4 separate regions of the Homo sapiens genome follow, and all the other regions are linked to region 2. The links are contacts of gene promoters, found by promoter capture Hi-C in blood cells and fetal thymus (Javierre and others, 2016). All regions are on one chromosome and are shown on one strand. Each heading gives the region's core, a stretch centred on a gene start or on the middle of the fragment in contact. The rest is flanking DNA. Distances are from core to core; before and after follow the strand shown.

Region 1 (3,724 bases), core at 1,217-3,716, 370 kb before region 2:
CACCAAATACAAGATGGCGACGAGTGTTCTCTGGTCGTCCTCATTGCTGCTCTCCCACCAGCGTCATGACAGTTTATAAATGCCATGGCAATGTCAGGAAGTTACCCTATATGATCTAAAAAGGGGAGACATGAATAATCCACCCCTTGTTTAGCATATCATCAAGAAATAACCATAAAAATGGGCAATCAGCAGACCTCGGGACAGCTCTGTCTATGGAGTAGCCATTCTTTTATCCCTTTACTTTCTTAATAAACTTGCTGTCACTTTACTCTATGGACTCACTCTGAATTCATTCTTGCAGGAGATCCAAGAACCCTCTCTTGGGGTCTGGATCCGGATCCCTTTCCTGTAACACAGTGAGGCACAATGGCGCAGTGGACAGAATGCTGGAGTCCTGGATCTGCCACTGGTTTGCTGTGTGCCCCTAGAAAAGCAAATAGACTTCTCTGAGCCTTGATTTATTGAGACTGCCAGGACCAAATGGAGAACTTTAAAGTCTGCAAAGATTGTGAAATATTTTACCCCACCCATGGCATTCAAAATAAAAACAGGGCTGAGCACGGTGGCTCACACCTGTAATCCCAGCACTTTGGGAGTCTAAGGCAGGCAGATCACCTGAGGTCAGGAGTTCAAGACCAGCCTGGCCAACATGGTGAAACCCCATCTCTCCTAAAAATACAAATATGAGCTGGGTATGGTGGTGCGTGCCTGTAGTCCTAGCTTCTTGGGAGGCTGAGGCAGGAGAATCACTTGAACCCGGGCAGTGGAAGTTGCAGTGAGCTGAGATCATACCACTGCACTCCAGCCTAGGTAACAGAGAGAGATTCCATCTCAAAAAACAAACAAACAAAATAAGTAAAAACAGTACTAATCCATAAGATAAGTGCCACTCATTATCTCAGTGACAGACTTCTGACACAGGTGTAGATTCTTCAGAAAACATTTTGGCCTCACACAGCAAGAGTTATAAAAATGTTTATATTCTTCAACCCAGGAAACCTAAATGTGGAGATTCATCCTAAGAAAATAAGTCAAACTTGGGGATTTTTTTTTTTTTTGAGACAGAGTCTCCCTCTGTTGCTGAGGCTGGAGTGCAGTAGCACTATCTCGGCTCACTGCAACCTCCACCTCCCAGATTAAAGCGATTCTCCTGCCTCAGCCTCCCAAGTAGCTGGGACTACAGGTGTGCGCCACCACACCCAGATAATTTTTGCATTTTTTAATAGAGATGGGGTTTTGCTATGTTGGCTAGGCTGGTCTCGAACTTCTGACCTCACATGATCCACCTGCCTTGGCCTCCCAAACTCCTGGGAGTACAGGCATCAGCCACCATGCCCGGCCAAGTCAAAGATTTTTAAAATGCAAAGGCACTCTTGTGTTCTCCTCTCTCTGTGCCCTTTGATGGTATGGCAAGGCATTTAAAGATGTTTCTGACATTTTTTTAAATTCTAAGACGATGTTAACTATACGGTTATTGGCTAGAAATCCTGAGTTATCAACTGTACATATCCATAGTTTGTAAAAAAGAACAAAACAACCAAGACAAACTCTTGATGTTCCTCACTTGGCAATGAGGCCGTGGGGGAAGATGGCTTTCGGAGGAGTGGTAGCTCAGGGCGTGCACTGTGAGACAGGACCTGTTGACTCCGTGGTGAGCATCTATTTAGCTTCAGGTGGTCTTGTTTCTGTATAGAGTGACATAGCATTCTGCTGCCATTCTTAGCTGTGGACAAAGTGGGATCAGCTGGCATGAGAAGTGTTTGGGGGTTTTTTGGTTGTTTTTTGTTTTTTTGAGACAGAGTTTCGCTCTTGTTGCCCAGGCTGGAGTGCAATGGTGCGGTCTCAACTCACCCCAACCTCCGCCTCCCGGGTTCATGCGATTCTCCTACCTCAGCCTCTTGAGTAGCTGGGATTACAGGTGCCCACAACCACGCCTGGCTAATTTTTGTATTTTTAAGTAGAGACAGGGCTTCGCCATGTTGGCCAGGCCGGCCTCAAACTCCTGACCTCAGGTGATCCACCCGCCTCGGCCTCCTAAAAAAGTTCTGGGATTACAGGCGTGAGCCACCATGCCCAGCCTTTTTTTTTCTTTTCGAGAAAGGGTCTCCCTCTGTTACCTACACTGGAGTCCAGTGGTGCAGTCATAGCTTACTGCAGCCTTGACCTTCCAGCCTCAAGTGATCCTCCCACCTCAGCCTCCTGAGGAGCTGGAACTACACCACACCTGGCTTTTTTTTTTTTTTTTTTAACAGAGACAGGGTCTGTGTTGGCCAGGCTGGTCTTGAACCTCTGGCCTCAAATGATCCTCCCACCTCGGCCTCCCGAAGTGCTGGGATTATAGACATGAGCCACTGCACCTGGCCTAAATTTTGTTTTAAACAAACTACAGAACTCTTCCTTGTCAGCAAACAAAGAGCCACCCATCAGTGAAAGTTCAAGAATCAGGCCGGGCGCAGCGGCTCATGCCTATAATCCCAGCACTTTAGAAGGCTGAGGTAGGAAGATCACCTGAGGTCAGGAGTTCGAGACCAGCCTGGCCAACATGGCAAGCCCCATCTCTACTAAAAATACAAACAAAGGCTGGGCATGGTGGCTCACGCCTGTAATCCCAGCACTTTGGGAGGCCGAGGCAGGCGGATCACGAGATTGAGACCATCCTGGCTAACAAGGTGAAACCCCGCCTCTACTAAAAAAACAAAAAAAGCCAGGCTGAGGCAGGAGAATGGCGTGAACCCAGGAGGCAGAGTTTGCAGTGAGCCGAAATCCCACCACTGCACTCCAGCCTGGGCAACAGAGCTAGACTCCGTCTCAAAAAAAAAAAAAAAAAAATACAAAAAAAAATTAGCCGGGCGTTGTGGCAGGCACCTGTAATCCCAGCTACTCGGGAGGCTGGGGCAGGGGAATCACTAGAACCCAGGAGGGGGAGGTTGCAGTGAGCCAAGATCTTGCCACTGCACTCCAGCCTGGGCAACAAAGTGAGACTCCATGTCGAAAAAAAAGAAGAAGAAGAAGAAGAAGAATCTTCTTTATTTTGTATGTTTAGAATGCTGAGGTATTTTTCAAGTTACATTAACAGCATTGCACTTTTTAAAAAGAAAAAGAAAATAAGCCAAAGGCAAAAAAAATCCATATATACAAAGATGCCGATTGTAAAATCATCTCTACATAGGCAAGTGGAAATAAGTAAAAATCAACAAAATAAACACTTGGAATGAAAAAAGCCAAGCCCAGAAGAGCTCATACTGAAAAATGCCATTCATATAAAGCACAAAATTAGGGGAAGCTAACTTTGCCTTTAGAAGTCAGAATAGAGGTTATATGGTAGAGGGGGATAGAGAAGAAATAACTGGAAGGGAAATCAAGAGGCTTTCAGGGCTGCAGATATTCTGTTTCTTGATCTGGTTACATAATCAATTCATTTGTGAAAATTCATCCAGCCATACACTTCTGATATGGACCCCTTTATATGTGTGTATTGTACTCCGATACAAAAGTTTTCTAGACAGATGAACAAGAGGAGGATTTTTTTTTTTTTTCGAGATGGAGTCTTGCTCTGTCGCCCAGGCTGGAGTGCAGCGGCGCTATCTCTGTTCACTGCAACCTCCGCCTCCTGGGTTCATGACATTTTCCTGTCTCAGCCTCCCGAGTAGCTGGGACTACAGGTGCCCACCACCACGCCCAGCTAATTTTTTGTATTTTTAGTAGAGACAGGGTTTCACTG
Region 2 (3,408 bases), core at 566-3,065:
CTGACTGCGGGTTGTACTGAACGGCAAACATATCGCAGTTCTTGCTTTTAGGGAATAAAGTAGGGAGAGGAAGAGGAGGTAGAGTCTCCAGCAGTGACTTCAACAGCTCGCTGTCTTCACTATCTAGGAAATAGGTGTAAAAACCTGCTCAAAACGAAATAGATTTGTGAAAAAAGGAACTTCAGTGTGAAGAAAATGTCAAGATCAAGGCACCTCGGATATTCAGTCATTGGTCTCATTGGCGATTAGAAATCCTCGTTTGAGGTCGGGCGCAATGGTTCACCCCGTAATCCCAGCAATTTGGGAGGCCGAGGCGGGCGGCTCACTTGAGGTCAGGGGTTCGACACAAGCCTAGCCAACATGGTGAAACCACCTCTCTACTAAAAATACAAAAATTAGCCGGGCGTGGTGGCAGGCGCCTGTAATCCCAGCTACTCGGGAGGCTGAGGCAGGAGAATCACTTGAACCTGGGAGGCTGAGGTTGCAGTGAGCTGAGATCGCACCACCGCATTCCAGCCTAGGCAACAGAGCGAGACTGTCTCGCTCTCAAAAAACAAGAAAGAAAAGAAAAAAAAAGAAAAAGAAATCCCCGTTTGACAGGAAGGTGGCTCATGTCACTAGAGGGAAGGAACTGGTTTATGGGCCTGGATGCCCCCAGTTGAACCGGGGGACATCTTCCTCCTCTGTCCCTCCCGCCTCGCCTTTCGGTGGACACACAGTCCTGTGCCAGACAGCAAACGTCCCAGCAGGGCTCGCAGCGCCCCCTCGGGGCAGAGAGATGCACGCGGGCGACTGTCGCAGTCACCTCGTGGCCACTGCACCAAACGCTCCTCCGAAGCTTCCCTCAGAGACCCTCCCTCAACCGCGAGGCAGTCCTCCCCTCTGCCCTCTGTCCACAACAAAACTGCTCCCCGCCTCTCACTTGAGGGCACCGGGGCCAGCCCCCGAGACGAGAGGTCGGCCGCAGCCCTCCTCCACGGGGCTCACGACCCGGGGGCCTCACGACCCGGGGGCCCCATGCTGCCACCCTTACCCCGGGGCCCCCAACCTCACCCGCCGCCGCCACCCTCGGTCCCGGCCACAGCGGGCGGCTCTGCAGAAGAGCTACGCTCCGTCCAGTCGGACCCCGGACCCTGGCCGGGCATCTCCGCGGCGCCGAGACCGCGAGCCGTGTGCGGGAGCAGCTGTCCCAGCATCCCTCCCCCGACAGCACGCGTGCGTCAGGCTGCTGGTATTCCGGAGAGGCGGCTCGGATGCTGGCTTCTCGCCCCTCCGAAGCCGTTCGGACACTGCCCGAACAGCTTCGGGAGAGCGGGGCGGGCAGATCCGCGACCCCGGAGTTACGGTGGGGGAGGGGCAGGAGCGCTGCGGTCGCTGAGCGTTTGCACGTTTGCACCTCTCTGTGGAAGCAGTGCGTCACAGGAGGGAAATATACATGCTCCCCAAAACAAGAGGTGCCTTCCACTTCAGTATTCCAGATCCTCAGCACATTTGCAAATCGCGAGGGTCACCATACAGGTCAAACGTCTGCACGCAAACCACGGACCGAAGCACGTGGCGCAAGGATGCGGAGCTTTATCTGTTGTCCGTTATTACTCAGGTATCCAAGCTTAGACAGCATCCCAACGGCCGATTTCCATCAACTACTTTTGCGCACGCGCAAATCCTCTCCCTCGCCCCTCCCCTTTTTTCTCAGGACGCGTTTCTCACGGGATTTGGCCCGCGGGCTGCCCCGTAGTAGGAGGTGTGGTAGAACTGGAGGCGTAGAAAGAATGTGGATTGCGATTGGTTCGCACTTCACTTTCCCGGAGCTCAGTGGGCGTCGCGCGAAGGCTAAGGGAGTGTGGCGGGCGGCTCCGGGAGCCAACATGCCTCGGTATGCGCAGCTGGTCATGGGCCCCGCGGGCAGCGGGAAGGTGAGGATCTGCGGGGACAAGGAGAGAAAAGTAGGAGTTCGTGGAAGGCGGGAGATTGGGTCCTGAGGGAGTGAGCCGGCGGGTGTGTGTACTGGGAACCCTGAGACCCCACGCAACTCATTTCTGCTGTCTGGCTTCACGTTCTTTTTTGTTGTTGTTTTGAAAGGGAAATAATGGTAGTTGTTAATATTTATTGTATACTTAAGCCCCAGGCAGCAGATGAAACGCCTCGCTTATTTCTACAACAACCCTGTGAGAGAGATCTCATTTTTCTCATTTTACAGAAAACGAGATACAGAAAGGTTAATTAAGTTCTTTGCCCCGCAAAAAAATATAAATCCAGTTTTGTCTCAACTCCAGAATCCGGCCCTGTCTCGCTCCCAGGAGGGTAAAGTGGGGTCTCATTAATTACTGTTTCTCAGAACTTGGGACATGGACTTTTGGTATTTAAGGTGCTTTTAGGTGGTAGGTGGTACATGGACCCCACATTAAGGAGCATCAGATAATGTGTTAGGGAAATTGTTCCCTTTTCATTTCTCTTTCAGTTCTCAACTTCGCATTTAGGAGAAGTTGTGCTCGGTGCTAGTGTGTATCTTCAGCACTTCTTTAATCCCCAGGTCTTTTCAGAGAGCAGTTCTTAGTCTCAGAGCTTTTAATAGGCACCTGTATTTAGCTAAAAATAGAACATTTAAAGATTTTATATAATTTTATGTCTAATTTCACGTTATGTCAAATATAAGTGGTTTTCAGTTTACAGTAGGGATAAAATTTTTTCTTGTAAACAAATATTAAGGGAATGTTAGGAACATTCAAATACAGTGAGAATGGTGAAGATATGGATCAAATAACATATGTGTGGGAAACATAGCCAGGCGTGGTGGCTCACGTCTGTAATCCTATCACTTTGGGAGATGGAGGTGGACGGATCGCCTGAGCCCAGGAGTTTGGGACCAGCCTTGGCAACACGGCGAAACTCTGTCTCTACAAAAAAATGCAAAAATTAGCCAGGCCTGGTGGCAGGTACCTCTAGTCCCAGCTTCTCGGGAAGCTGAAGTGGGAGGATTACCTGAACCCAGGAGGTTGAGGCTGTGGTGAGTGGTGATCGTGCCACTGCACTCCAGCCTGGGTGACAGAGGTACTGTCGCAAAAAAAAAAAAGAAGAAGTGTGGAAACACTAGAGTCTGTGGAGGTGTTGTGTGGCCTCAGTCTTTAACAAACACATTGTTCTAAGCTGTTGACTTATTCTGGGTAAAAACATGTACATGTAACTAAGATACCTATGGCCTTTAACTTACCCAGAGTCTGTAGTCTTTTGGGGAAGACAAATAGATGACCTGTCAATTAAGATACAGTGTGATGTGGCCAGGTGTGGTGGCTTAAGCCTGTAATCCTCGCACTTTGGGAGGCTGAGGCCAGCAGATCACTTGAGCCCAGGAGTTCAGGGTCAGCCTGGGCACCATGGTGAAGCCCTGTCTCTACCAAAAATACAAAA
Region 3 (3,760 bases), core at 1,053-3,552, 270 kb before region 2:
ATCCCCTAACTTGGACACTTCATAATGGGAACTTGGCAGTTTCAACTGCTTTTTGCCTTTATACAGTCCTAAAATATTGTTGGACTATAAATGCTGTGAGTGGTGGAGTCGAGGGCATGAACAGTTGGACAGCTCTGGTGTTAGAATTTACAGATCTTTTAAAGTAAGTTATTAAAATGAAGCTCCTGAAAATATCTCGTCCTTTTCTTAATCTGTGCATTCTTTCCTTTTATGCTGTCTTTAAAAAAAAAACAACAAAAAAAACACTAAATGTCATTAAGGACCCCTGAAATGCTCTTGAAATGTTATTGCAGGTGAAAACCTTGTATTGTAGGTGAAAACCTTGTCATTCTTTTAATGCCAGGTATTTATATAAGAACCATACTTTTTCATACTAGTTAATATAGTTCTTTAATTTATTCGAGGCAGCAGTTGGTCAGAAACTGATTAAAATAGTTTGCTGTAAGAAAGGAACTTTTTGTTAAATATTTTCTTTCTAAATTTTAAAATTCTGCTTATCTCTGCAGGGATATGTGTGGCTTTATTTCTCTGAGGAAACAGGAAAAGTTGGAATTTGCATGGATTAGAAACATTAGAATTTTAAGATCATCTAAGGCTTGCTAATTTAAGTTCTGGTTTGCCCATAACTGCCTCTATTCATAAACAGCTTTTGTTAATTTTGATCTTTAAAATTGTAATAAGTACTTTGCCTGGTAAGTAATGATACATCTAAAATGAGATCATTGTTTCTTAATAGTTCCTCTTGTTATGTGGCACTTGAAAACCAGGTTTTCTTATATTTCATTTTTTGCTGAAATTAATAAAGCAGTGCATTTTAATGCCTTGGGAATAGGCTAACTGCAAAGTATACTTAAATTTCTTTTTTTCTCGTGGGTGTTAAATTGGCAGAGAAACAGTTGAAGATGATCCATTGAGGATATGTAGATATCTAAGTTAAATGATGTTGGTAATAAATTCTGTTTTACAATTTTTTATTTAAAAAAATTAAATTTAATAATTTAAAATAGAAATGAGAGTCTCACTGTGTTGCCCAGGCTGTTCTCAAACTCCTGGTTTCAAGCAGTCCTCGCACCTCGTCCTCCCCAGGTGCTGGGGTTATAGTCATGAGCCACCGTGCCCGGCCTAAATTTTATTCTTTTCATAATGCCCCCAAAACCTTTTTTTTCCCTAAATAAGATGTAAGTATATCTGAAAGTAGAGGGAATATGACTTGTGACTTTGGCCAGATTTTTTTACGTGTTTAGAATTGATCTTTTAAGCTTGCGAGCAGTATAACCTAGTTGAGAAGTAGCTGAGTAATAGTACTAAAAAGCTAACTGAAAAGTGAAGTCTTAAGAAAAACAGCATGTTGGTTTAGATCTTAGTCACTAACCTTTGCAGTTCTTTTCTTCTCTGAACTCTGAGTATTTCTGTAAGCGAGGCATCACCTCTGCAACCCACCATGGATGCTTTTATCCAAGCTCTGCCTTGCTGATGATAAAACTTAAGGTTGTTAACTCCTTAGTATAACTGATGTTAGTTATTTAAATAACTACACAGTAAAACGGCATTTTGAGAGAAAATAAGCCAGCTGTTGATTTGGTCTGATGTATTGAAGACAAGTGAGATTTGGGGCAGTTTTACTTTGTAAATGACCTCCTTCAAGGAGCCATGGTGGCTAGCATTTTTTTTGCATAGCAGGTGGTTGTAACTTACTTCACATCTTGGTTTGCAAGAAGCATCTTTGCTTTGAAGAAGGCCATTGTCAAAGTGCAAGACCATGTCAGGCTCTGCAGAATTGCCTGACTTGTTTTAGTGATTTAAATATGATCTCTGCCCTGGCTCACAGAAAGTGCTTACAGATTTAATCCTCTGATACATAAGGGTTGTTCTGAAGGTAGGGAGTGTTCAGATATTCTGAAACTCTAAGATTGTTTAAATAACCCATATGTTCATCTTTTTGATGCAGTATAAAACGTTCATATTCTGGTGTTTAGCCATCCCTGGTCCTAAAGATAATAAAGGACAAACATAATGGTTTAAAAAGGGGAAGGTTTCTTAATATGCTAACCAAAAAAAAAAACAAAAGTAATCTTTCCTAATGAACACCTGTAATTATTTATTTTTTTATTTTATTTTGGAGACAGAGTCTCACTCTGTCACCCAGGCTGGAGTGCAGTGGTGGGATCCTGGCTCACTGCAACCTCTGCCTCCCGGGTTCAAGCGATTTTGGTGTCTCAGCCCCCTGAGTAGCTGGGATTAACAGGCATGCACCACCACGCTCGGCCAAGTTTTTGTATTTTTAGTAGAGATGAGGCCAGGCTGGTTTTGAACTCGTGACCTCAAGTGGTCTGCCCGCCTCAGACTCCCAAAGTGCTGGGATTACAGGCATGAGCCACCGTGCCCAGCCTGTAATTATTTGTTTACAGAGCAGGTAATTTTTACACTCACATCCAAGTTGTCAGTTTCTAATTCCCTCATTGATAAGAACTCTGATGTGAGCCCTTGCCCTTCCTTTCCCATCAGTATGTTGGTCATATGCCCACTTCCTCTCCTCCTAGGCAAGGTGGGAAAGCTCTGTTGGAGACAGATGATCTGCAGCTTGCAGGAGTCCTTTTTTAAACCACAGCATTGAAAAAGGATTACTCTCCTTGTGCCCGCAGTGCCCTCTTGCCTGTCAGTAGCAGGAGGCAGCAGTGAAATCTGACAGAATTGTGTGTGACGTTGTGCTTGCGGGGGATGTGACACACAGGAGCGCTCTGCATTCTGAGCCTAGGGTGTTCCTCCTCATAACTGGGCAAATGGACATGCAGTTGTAGCCCAGCAGTGGTCAGCTGTAGAAATTAGTGAGGTGATTTGATGTCTTTGAAAGCACAGTCCTATTACAACCTGTAACCTGTTGTGCAGAATCACAGTACCAGTCAGCCCACTTGACTAGGTGAGGATTCCTGATGGTGAAGCAGGGAAATTATTGATGTTATGTGGACTTCACCATTTAACTTAATTTACAATTGAGGCCATTAGTTGACCTGAGAGATTAAAATATGAAGGAGATAATATTCTGGGTGTCAGTCGCTTTGTAGATAAAGAACTGGAAAGTCATTCAAGACCAAGAAGGAAGGATTTCATTTCCATGGAGCTTATGGAATTCCAGGATAGAGTTTGATATTTTAAGATCATACCTCTGTATCCAAAGCATCAAGAACAGATGATGTGTTTGTGGATCTTGGTGATTTGTCTGAAATCTCCAGCTTCCCCACTTCACTGGGGTTTACTGTCATCCCTCTTCTAGAAGGTAGTGGTCATCACCGACAGTAAAGCTTACAGCAAATGAAAACTCAAAATGTAGTCTACTCAGTGGTATATTACCGAAATGTGTTCTTAGACTGTGAAAATTAAAGTTTTTAATGGATTGGCTTTACTCGAGGTGTAGAAAACTCAAGATGCTTTATTGAGAACAGTAGACAGTGTTTTGCAGCCACATCCTATCTGCCTTGAAAAAAATGGTGTCACTTTTATTTTTTTTACTAGAGACTGGGTCTCACTCTGTCCCCAGGCTGGAGACCTGAACTCCTGGGTTCAAGCGATTCTTCCTCCTCATCCTCTTGGCTAGCCGGATCTATAGGCACACACCACCACACCTGGCTAATTTTTTTTTCTTTTTCTTTTTTTCTTAAAGACAGGGGTGTTGCCTAGGCTGTTCTTTAACTCCTGGCCACAAGCAGTCCTCCCACCTCAGCCTCCCAAAGTGCTGGGATTA
Region 4 (3,593 bases), core at 654-3,153, 350 kb after region 2:
CTCCTTGGCAACGGTTGCTAGGCCGTAGAGTTACGTCACTTCCGGGCGAGCGGCCGCTCTCCCGCGCGCGCGCGCACGAGCTGGGGGGCGGGGCCGGGCCAGGGCGGGGAGGACGGGCGCGGGGCGGAGCGGACGGGGCGGGGCGGGGCGGAGCGGACGGGACGGGGCGGGACGGGGCGGGGCGGACGGGGCGGACGGGAGCCGGGCTTACTTGCAAAGCGGGCCCACGTGCTGAGCCACTGCAGACAGCCGAGGGCATTTGGGACTGTTACTCCGACCTAGACGCGCTACAATAAGCTTCCCGAAAGTCCTGCACTTCGCAGTTTACAAAATACTCTCTGCATGATTAACCTATGTTAAATGCGTGTGATGTTTCATTCATTCATTCATTCATGCATGCATGCATGCATTCATGCGCCAAACGTGGGTGATGATTTTTGTTTGTTTTTGAGGCAGGGCTGGGTGGTAGGGGGGTTGGGATGAGCAAGCATTTGGCCAGTGCTTCAAATTTAGGTTTTTGACATAAGTATCTCCAAATTAGGTTATGCATAGGAACAATTGTAGTGAGGCTCTGGCAGGATTAAAAGAAGACACATTCATCATAGAGATTTCAGCTTCTGTGTCACATTACTGGGCCACATTGCCTGTACTGGGAATTAAATTTTTTTAAACCCAATACGTTTTGAGTATGCTGAGAGCCTGAAAGGGGGTGTGGGAGAACTAAGTGTCCTAATGTTCCTTTGGCTTCTGAGTGGGCTCTCTTTAGGTGACTGCAGAAATAAATTAAATCCTCCTTGTGGTCTTCATGGAGTTCACATCCCACGCAGGACGCAGGGAGATCTTTGTGCCCAGTCACTGATGAGGTTTAAAAGTCTACTGGAATTTGCACTAGCTGGTTTGTGGGAGACCTTAGTTGGCAAATGGTATTTTGAACCAACCTCTATTAGACTAGAGACCACGATACTTAGTGATATCAGCTGGCAATGAAAGAAAGAGAAGGAAAAAAAATCAAATTATTGATACCTTGAAAACTTAGTTGCCTGCTCAAACAGCATAGGAGAAACCAACTATAGCTTTAGCATCAGACTTACCACAACAAAAAATAACAGATTACGTATTAGGCATTTCCTATATGCCCTGTACTGTACAGGCTGCTGGAAATGCAGAAGGGCAGGACTTACCTGGCCCCTGCCCTGATGGAGCTGACAGTCTAGTGCCGGCAGAGATTATTAAAGGGGCAACACCAATACAATTGAGATAAATGCTGTAACAAGAGAAGCCAATGATTAGGAGCCCAGATTAAGGGCCTCAAGTTTATTTGGGGAGGGTGGTGCCAAAGGGGCCATACCATCAGGAAAGTTTCTGTCAAATGGAGTGATGTTTAAGGATCAGTAAAAATTAGGCCTGGCACCGTGGCTCACGCCTGTAATCTCAGCACTTTGAGAGACCAAGGCAACAAGATAACTTTGAGCCCAGGAGTTCAGGATCAGCCTGGGTAACAGAGCAAGACCCTTTCTCTACAAAAAATTAAAAGCAAAAATTGGTCAGGGGTGGCACCATTGCACTCCAGGCTGGGCAACAGAAGGAGACCCCCATCTCTTAAAAAGGATCAGTAAAAATTAGCCAAACAGGAAAAGGGAGAGTGTTTTGGGCAGAGGCAACACAACATTCCAAGACCAGTCCCTTTGTTGGCTGCCCTCTGACTGTTGAAATATCAAGCGTAGGTACCCTGCAGGGCTCCTGGAGAGAAACTAAAACTGGCCCCACCCCACAACCAATTAGGGGAAGCAACACTCAAAACCTCAAAGAATTAAATAACTTACATAATACTGACAGAAACAATACAAGATTTGTAGAAGGGATTATATAATTCATTGATCCTGTTGGGTGTGTTAGGAGACATCCCTGGCTACCTGGGTTTGAATTCTGCATCTGCCATTGTGTACCCTCTCTTTATCTTGCTAAACTTTCCTCATCTGTAAAACGTGGCTATAATAAAACCTTCCTCAATAGGGTTGACATGAGGATTAAGGGAGTTGATACAGGTAAAGTGATTACAACAGTGCCCAACATTGGGAGGCACTGAAGACATTTATGTTTTTTCTTTTTAAAAAAATGAGGCATGTACATGGTGGCTCATGCCTGTAATCTCAGCACTTTGGGAGGCTGAGGTGGGAGGACAGTCTTAGCCCAGGAGTTCAAGTCCAGCCTGAGCAACAGTGAGACCCCATCTTTAAAAAAAGAAAAGAAAAAAGAAAAAAAAAAGAAGTAAAAGAATTTTTTGAATAAAACTTTAAAAATAAGATGGTTTGCCAGACACAATGGCTCATGCCTGTAATCCCAGCACTTTGGGAGGCTGAGATGGGCCGATCACTTGAGGTCAGGAGTTCAAGACCAGCCTGGCCAACAAGGTGAAACCTCATCTCTATCAAAAATACAAAAATTAACTGGGTGCGGTGGTGCATGCCTGTAATCCCAGCTACGTGGGAGGCTGAGGCAGGAGAATCACTTGAACTTGGGAGGCAGAGGTTGCAGTGAGCGAAGATCACGCCATTGCACTCCAGCCTGGGCAACAGAGTGAGACTCTGTCTCAAAAAAAAAAAAAAAAAGAAAAGAAAAGAAAAAAGAAAAAGTAAAGAAAAGAAAAAAGAAAAAAAAAAGATGGTTAGATTTGCACCTTCTATAGGGTTTATGGGTATAGGCTATAGAAATCCTAGATAGGAGTGGTTTATCTAATAGCTTTTAGTTCCTCCTCTCTCTGTTGCCCCTGGTCTACAAACACTATACCTTTCAGTTATGAGACTGCAATCCTGTATAAATTCAAATAAGCAAGAGGATCCACTCTTTGGACTCAAACTTGAATAGATTTTATGCTTAATATGGTTGCTCTGGAACACGGGGAAGAACTTGAAGCCAGTCAGCATGCTTCCTGGAATCTGTATATTGAAAAATTTATGTTCCGACTTACAGTAAAAAAGAGAACTGCATATATTGGGTCCCCGAGGCCAAAGGAAGATTGGCTACCACCCCCTGATTCTGTGTGTGTGTGTGTGTGTGTGTGTGTGTGTGTGTGTGTGTGTGTGTGTGTTTGTGTTTGGAGATGGAGTCTCACTTTGTCACCCAGGCTGGAGTGCAATGGCGCAATCTCGGCTCACTGCAGCCTCCGCCTCCTGGGCTCAAGCAATTCTCCTGTCTCAGCCTCCCTAAAGTGCTGGGATTACAGGTGTGAGCCACCGCGCCCAGCCGCCTGATTCATTTAACATAAAACCTTGGGTGGATTCGTTGAAGAGTCTAAGAGGGAATTGTCAGCAACAATTTCACAACAACAGAGGCATTGCTGATCTCCTCCCAGCTGAGCTACCCGTGAAGCCTTTTTTTTTCCTCCTTAGATGCTATGTTGAGTCTTCTCTGTAAGCTCCCAACAATGCCTTTTGGCTGAACTATATTTGACATTTTTAATAGAGGGAGGGAAGTTCCAGCCATATGTGACAGCCTTTCTGAAAGCTTCCCACTCCTTCCTTACTCTCTTTTTGAAACAGCTCTATTAAGATATAATTCACATACATACAATTCACCCATTTAAAGTGTACAAT

The links. The method cuts DNA at HindIII sites, captures the fragments that hold promoters and counts their contacts. A CHiCAGO score of 5 or more calls a contact.
Region 1: a contact is called between a fragment that was not itself captured here and the fragment with the promoter of GPN3 in region 2, in 1 of 17 cell types (total B cells). The highest score is 6.2, in total B cells.
Region 3: a contact is called between a fragment that was not itself captured here and the fragment with the promoter of GPN3 in region 2, in 6 of 17 cell types (fetal thymus, activated CD4 T cells, total B cells and 3 more). The highest score is 12.9, in fetal thymus.
Region 4: a contact is called between a fragment that was not itself captured here and the fragment with the promoter of GPN3 in region 2, in 3 of 17 cell types (fetal thymus, non-activated CD4 T cells and naive CD4 T cells). The highest score is 8.3, in fetal thymus.

What each region holds. Positions count from the first base shown.
Region 1 is chr12:110,837,437-110,841,160 of GRCh38, reverse strand. No RefSeq gene overlaps it. Among named protein-coding and RNA genes, the nearest start is that of CCDC63, 7.7 kb to the left of the region's middle. The HindIII fragment of the contact is 6,129 bases long and covers 1-3,724 here.
Region 2 is chr12:110,466,664-110,470,071 of GRCh38, reverse strand. It overlaps GPN3 (GPN-loop GTPase 3), which reads left to right and starts at 1,815. Exons shown (of 8, transcript NM_016301.4): 1 at 1,815-1,916. The coding sequence starts at 1,869. It overlaps FAM216A (family with sequence similarity 216 member A), which reads right to left and starts at 1,227. Exons shown (of 7, transcript NM_013300.3): 1 at 1,054-1,227. The coding sequence starts at 1,196. RefSeq lists enhancers at 484-653, 1,574-1,703 and a silencer at 854-1,163. The HindIII fragment of the contact is 2,100 bases long and covers 1,612-3,408 here.
Region 3 is chr12:110,737,688-110,741,447 of GRCh38, reverse strand. The region is part of intron 1 of PPP1CC (protein phosphatase 1 catalytic subunit gamma); the gene reads left to right. Among named protein-coding and RNA genes, the nearest start is that of PPP1CC, 3.3 kb to the left of the region's middle. The HindIII fragment of the contact is 2,040 bases long and covers 1,283-3,322 here.
Region 4 is chr12:110,120,776-110,124,368 of GRCh38, reverse strand. It overlaps IFT81 (intraflagellar transport 81), which reads right to left and starts at 12. Exons shown (of 19, transcript NM_014055.4): 1 at 1-12. RefSeq lists a silencer at 1-198. The HindIII fragment of the contact is 3,207 bases long and covers 300-3,506 here.